2 separate regions of the Homo sapiens genome follow, and region 2 is linked to region 1. The links are contacts of gene promoters, found by promoter capture Hi-C in blood cells and fetal thymus (Javierre and others, 2016). All regions are on one chromosome and are shown on one strand. Each heading gives the region's core, a stretch centred on a gene start or on the middle of the fragment in contact. The rest is flanking DNA. Distances are from core to core; before and after follow the strand shown. Region 1 holds the start of CACNG3 (calcium voltage-gated channel auxiliary subunit gamma 3). Region 2 overlaps PRKCB (protein kinase C beta).

Region 1 (2,837 bases), core at 290-2,789:
GCAAGTTTAATAGTGTGATAGGCTACAAAAGGGCTTTATATTTTTAAATTGCTCTTTCTTCTTCATTATAAGTTATAACTACTCCCTAATTTTTAGAACTAGAAATGACGAACTGCAATTCTTGGAGAATCAGTCTTTTGTAAATGTCATGGAAATACCTTTTTAGGGGTTTGGGAATGATTTAGGAATGAAGACAGGTGGATACAAAATACCAAGACTTCAGTTTTGTTGTGATCCAAACTAATAAAACATGTATCAATAAGGATTTTTTCTTAAAATGTGTGCATAGGGTGTGGGTGGGAGTAGGGGTTTACATATGTTACCCTGTTACTGATTGGCAGTGGAAGTTCATGACAATATCTAGTTAGAGCAAACTCAGGAGAAACTGATAAGTCTATGTTGAGAAATAATGAAATAGCTCAGAATGTGCCAGACCGGGTCAGGATCTCTCTCTCTCTCTCTCTCTCTCTCTCTCTCTCTCTCTCTCTCTCTCTCTCTCTCTCTCCCCCCTCACTTCTTTCCTCTTGTCCCTTCTCCTCCCTTCCCTCCCCCTCCCTTCGAAATCCAATTTAAGCAGGGTTAAAGACCCCATCTCAAGCCAGAGATCCAAGCAGTTGACAATATGCCTAGGGATTTTGGATTTGAAGACTTTTCTAAACTGCAGAAGCTGCCTAGAGTGTGACAAAAATCTCATCTCATGAAGCTTATACTAAAAACAATCAACAAGACCCAACCCCTTTAACCCACATGGCGTCAGTCTTGCTGTTAACAGAGTCTGGGCACCTGCACATTCTCAGCAATAATTTGAACTTCTCTTCTTTCCTTATCACCATTTCCATCTCCTCCAAACACCCACCAGAATATCAGAACTGGATTATTCAGAGCTATTGAGAGGAAATTGTAAATACCTTCTAGGCAGCAGGTCCTCCACAGCCCCGAATGGGTCATTACTTCTTCATTCTTCCTGCTGGTTTCATTATCACTTGTAGATTTAGTCCTGCACACACCTCTGGAATATAACCAGTAGTCCGTGCCCACTGCAATGGTCATTAAACTAAAAGCGGCAAAGGCTCCTACAGTGGTGATCAACATCTGGATACCTCTGTCACACATCCTCATAATTCTTCATGGTACTCTGGACGGCTGGGGGTTGGAGGGGGAGAGTCAGTGCCGGAGGGGAAAATCACTCTGCAGCCGGGTAACCTAGTACAGGCTCTTCCAAAAATTCAGGTCTCCTTTTGTCAGCATCCACAGGGACTTTGGGAAAGCTGGGATTTCCTTTCTGGAGCTCTCTCCAGTTCCCTGGGTCGCCTATGGCCCTCGGAAGGGTGCAGGCTCCGGGGGGTTGGTCCGCATCACTGCTGCCTTCTGAGGGTCCCTGGGTTCCTTTCATTCCTCAGGAGCGTGGTAAAGACGAGGGTCCGTGCAGGGCATGGCTCCGGAGCCTGGAGCTGCCAGCTCGGTTTGAGATGCGCCTGGCTTCTCACAGCCCCGGGAGACTCAAGGCAAAGAAACCCAGAGAGGTCTCTGTGTGAGTGTGTGTGTGTGTGTGTGTGCGTGCGTGCGTGTGTGTGCGAGCGCGTGTGCTGGGGGTGAGGGCGGATGGCAAAAAATAGCACTGCTGGGAGGCGAGCCGCTGAGAAGAGTGTTCACTGCTTCCACAGCCTCGCAGGAAAGCTCTCCGCCTGCTCCCGACACCCCCGCTCAAACTGGAGAAAAGACAGAGTCCTGGGGCGGGGGCCGGCTGGTTTCCCTGGGGGCGCCAAGGTCCGTGGTGCTGAAGGGACAGCTCCCCGCCTGTTGCCCCGCCTCCGTCGTCTTAACGCCTAGGCTTTAAGGTCCGTGGTGCCGAAGGGACAGCTCCCTCATGCAGCTGCACACCGCCGCCCGGGCTAGAAACCCGGGGTGCTAAAGGGTCTTTCTTCCCTCACCCCGCCCTTCCCCCGTTCCTTCCCGGGTCAGCCAGCCGGCTCGGCTCTGCCCAGTCAAGCCCACTCTCCGCGCAAAGTTTCTGGAGCCGAGGACAGTCAGCGCCCTGGCTCCTGGGCGCTGCAGCACGACCCGGTTCCTCCGCTCTAGGAAGGGTTAAGGAAAGGGGAAGGGGAGCGAAGCCCGTAGCGCACTCTGGCGCTCCCTCAGCACCCACCCAACGCGGCATTCTTCAATCCTCCCTTTCACCCCATGAGCCAGGCAAGTTTGCCTTTTGCTGCGGGCACCACTGGAGCCCATTGGGGAAAAAGAAGACCCGAAAGACCGAGTCTTCTTAAAGGCACCGGCAGCTCTGGAGACGGCTCTATGGCTCGCTTAGGCGGGCAAAAAGTGTTGTCACAATCACATCTGTGTAGAGTCTGTCTCAATTTGGTTCCCCAGCAAACAAACCAATATGTCTACCCTCCTTTCTCTGGAGCTCTGGTTTACACCGAAGACAACCCGCTCAGATCAGACCCGGAACTGTTCATATATACATGATCATGTATTCCTAAAAGATGGAAGAAGCTAAATATACATAGACTCTGTCATACACATATTAGGGACCTTGGGCAAAAGACTATAAGATTTTGGCCTTTGAATATGCCTTTTATACATTTTAACATATCTACATCGAAGGGGGTGATGGATTCATGGTGGGAGAGTCACTGAAAATGTCAGATTTTGTTCAAAGGTCTCTGAGATATCATTTGTTAACATTGTTATCTAAGTGAGACCATGAAGCAGGTGAAGTTAGGTCTGCTTTGCTTGTTAGTCCAAAGGGCAAATGGCATTGCACACCTGAAAGCTCTCTTCCTTGGAAATAGCCAGTATTGCAAAGGACCAGCATTTAACCAGCTTTTTATTAC
Region 2 (2,985 bases), core at 449-2,948, 200 kb after region 1:
CAATTTTGGAATGCAAGTGATACATTTTACTCTCTCAATAATGAAAGCTAGAAAATTAAAGGCCCCAAGGAACAACCTCTCTGTACTAAAATGATGTAGAATGCAGCCCAAATGTTCTTGTGTGAACGTTTTATAAATCGTGACCACTGTTTGCTGATGGAACCCTGGAAATAGCTCGTGGAAGACACAGCCATTGCTAGTGATGGCTCCATGCTGGGGGAGCCTATGCAAGCTCACACTCCCACAGGAAGGCACTTCCAGATAACCTATTCTCTAATCACAACTCTGAAAAACTGTATATATCAGGGCACTCCTGTGTGTGTGTTTAGGAAACCTGTTCATTCACTTATTCAATTAATGGCCGCATGTGGTGGCTCATGCCTGTAATCCCAGCACTTTGCGGGGCCAAAGTGGGCAGATCACTTGAGCTCAGGAGTTTGAGATCAGCCTGGCCAACATGGCAAAACCCCGTCTCTACTAAAAATACAAAAATTAGCTGGGTGTGGTGATGCACACCTGTAATCCCAGCTACTTGGGAGGCTGAGGCATAAGAATTGCTTGAATTCGGGAGGCGGAGGTTGCAGTGAGCCAAGATCATGCCACTGCACTCCAGCCTGAGCAACAGAGCAAGACCCTGTCTCAAAAAAAAAAAGATTAAAAATTATTAACAAGCACCTATTATGTACCTAGACATGGTGACACAAAATGAACAAGACAGAATAGTCAGTCCCTACAAAAAGCTTATATTTTAGAGAAAAGATACAAACATTAAACAAGGCATCTTAAGTCGGGTTCCCTGAAAAAAGACTGATCTGGATATTGTATGCAGGCGGCTTCTCAGGGAATAACCTTGGGAGGAACTCCTGCAAGGAATGGGGGAAGCAGGATGAAATCGAGAAACTGAACTGCAATGTAGCTGCAACAGAGGTGTCACCTGATCCATGAGGGAGCTCTGTAGCTGGGATGGCCCCTTAGACTTGTTCCCTACTGAGGCTGGGGAAGAGCATTTATAAGCCCATTCCCCACCAGCAACCAATCATAGACTGTGAGCTGCCCCTGGAAGAGGGCATAACCTTGGGCACTGCAGCTCCCTCAGGGCAAATCCTACGGAAATACTGAAGCCGTGAGTGGTCAGAGCCAATACTCTGCGTGGCTTGGGGCAGGAGTGCCTCTGTGCTGAGAGAGGGATCCTGGTGGCACACCACAGTATCCACTACACAAGGAAACATTGTAGATGTGATACATGCATAAGGGAGGAAGTTCAGCGCTTAGGGAAGGGGTACCTACCTTAGACTAGGGATTCTCAGGGTCACTGACGTCTTTGCTAAATGCCCTGTACAAAGGAGCTTGGTAGGAGTTCACTAACTAACCCCTCATTATGCACTAAGCGCTGTGAAGGCCCTGAGAGACATTCTTGTTTCATCCTTGCCATGACTCTGCAAGGTACAGGCTACTCTCTCTGCTCGCCAGATGAGGACACTGAGACTCATGGGGCTTCATTAACTTGCCCAAAGTCCCACAGCCAGCATGTGGCAGAGCTGGGACTTGAACACCTATCTTCCTGAAGACAAAGCCTAGGACCGCTTCTGCTTAATTCCTATCCCTATTCCCAGGCACCTTGCTTTCTTCCATTCATGCTATAAACCTGCTCAGATGCCTCTCAGAAATAACTTCCTTCTAAGACGCCTTCCCTGGCCCCTTTCTTCCACAACCCAAATTCTCATGAGTTGTCTACACTCCTCTTTCCACATCCCCTCCTTCAATTCCCTCCTCAACATCCAGCATCCAGGCTTTCCGGCATCCTGCCTCTTAACTCCTACTATGCCACTGAAAGAGCACTTCCCAAGTCCCTAAGTTAAATGACCAAATCCAGTGACTCTGTTCAATTCTTAGCCTCGTGTTTATCATTACCAGTTGGCAGCATCTAAGGTGTTGGCCATATCCACTTTCTTGAATTCTCTCTTCCCTTGGCTTCTATGACCATTTACTCGGCTGGTTCCCCTTCATTCTCTAAAAGCACTATAATTATTACTACTAATAATAATTATTATTCGAGATAGGGTGTCACTCTGTCACTCAGGCTGGAGTGCAGTGCTGTGATCATAGCTTACTGCAGCCTCAAACTTCTGGGCTCAAGGGCTCCTTCCACCTTAGCCTCCCCAGTGGCTTGGACCACAGGCATGCACCACCACACTGGCTACATTAAAAAAAAAAAATTTTTTTTTGTAGAAATGGAGTCTCCCTTTATCATCCAGGATGGTCTTGAACTCCTGGGCTCAAGCGATCCTTCTGCCTCAGACTCCCAAAGTGCTGGGATTACAGACATGAGCCACTGCACCTGGACTTAAAAGCATTATTTTTAAATTCTCCTTCACTGGCTCCTCTTGCTCCACTGATGACTGAAGTGGCTCCATTTCCCAGAGCCTGAACCTTCCTGCTCTTACAGTGCTGCACTAATTCCTGACCCACTCAAAGAATTCAGCTTCCACTGTTAGGGCCGGTGACCCCTGCATCCATACTGTTGGCTCTGTTTTTCCAATCGGATCTCTGGATATACAGATTCATCTGCCTACTGGACACAGTCACCCATGCAACCCAAAAACATCTCAACATATACTAAAGCAAGATGATTACCTTTCCCTTCTGGTAAGCTTCTGTGACTTCTAACCCTAATTGGCTATCACGCTCACTATCCACATGTCTTCCTGAGTCAGAAATCTCTGTTAGTCCTGACTCCTCCATCCTCTCCCTGATCCTCTACATCAATTTATTCTTATCCTTCCACTTCCTTAATTCATGTATGTTTCATCTCCTCCATCCTACAGGGATCAATAGCTCCTGGATGGGTCTCTACAGCTCTAGTCCCTTACATCTTTAATCCTTCTTTTTAATTGTCACCCATGGTAACTAGATCAGGTCATTACCACCTACAATGGCTCACCAAATCCCTAGCATGCTTGAGCAAGCTCTTCTGTGAGCTGGCAT

The links. The method cuts DNA at HindIII sites, captures the fragments that hold promoters and counts their contacts. A CHiCAGO score of 5 or more calls a contact.
Region 2: a fragment that was not itself captured here is called in contact with the fragment with the promoter of CACNG3 in region 1 in 4 of 17 cell types (erythroblasts, total CD8 T cells, endothelial precursors and 1 more); the score reaches 7.2 in erythroblasts.

Annotation. Positions count from the first base shown.
Region 1 is chr16:24,255,037-24,257,873 of GRCh38, reverse strand. It overlaps CACNG3 (calcium voltage-gated channel auxiliary subunit gamma 3), which reads right to left and starts at 1,539. Exons shown (of 4, transcript NM_006539.4): 1 at 909-1,539. The coding sequence starts at 1,119. RefSeq lists an enhancer at 1,064-1,791. The HindIII fragment of the contact is 7,529 bases long and covers 706-2,837 here.
Region 2 is chr16:24,058,735-24,061,719 of GRCh38, reverse strand. All of the region lies in intron 5 of PRKCB (protein kinase C beta), which reads right to left. Among named protein-coding and RNA genes, the nearest start is that of MIR1273H, 140 kb to the left of the region's middle. The HindIII fragment of the contact is 1,911 bases long and covers 743-2,653 here.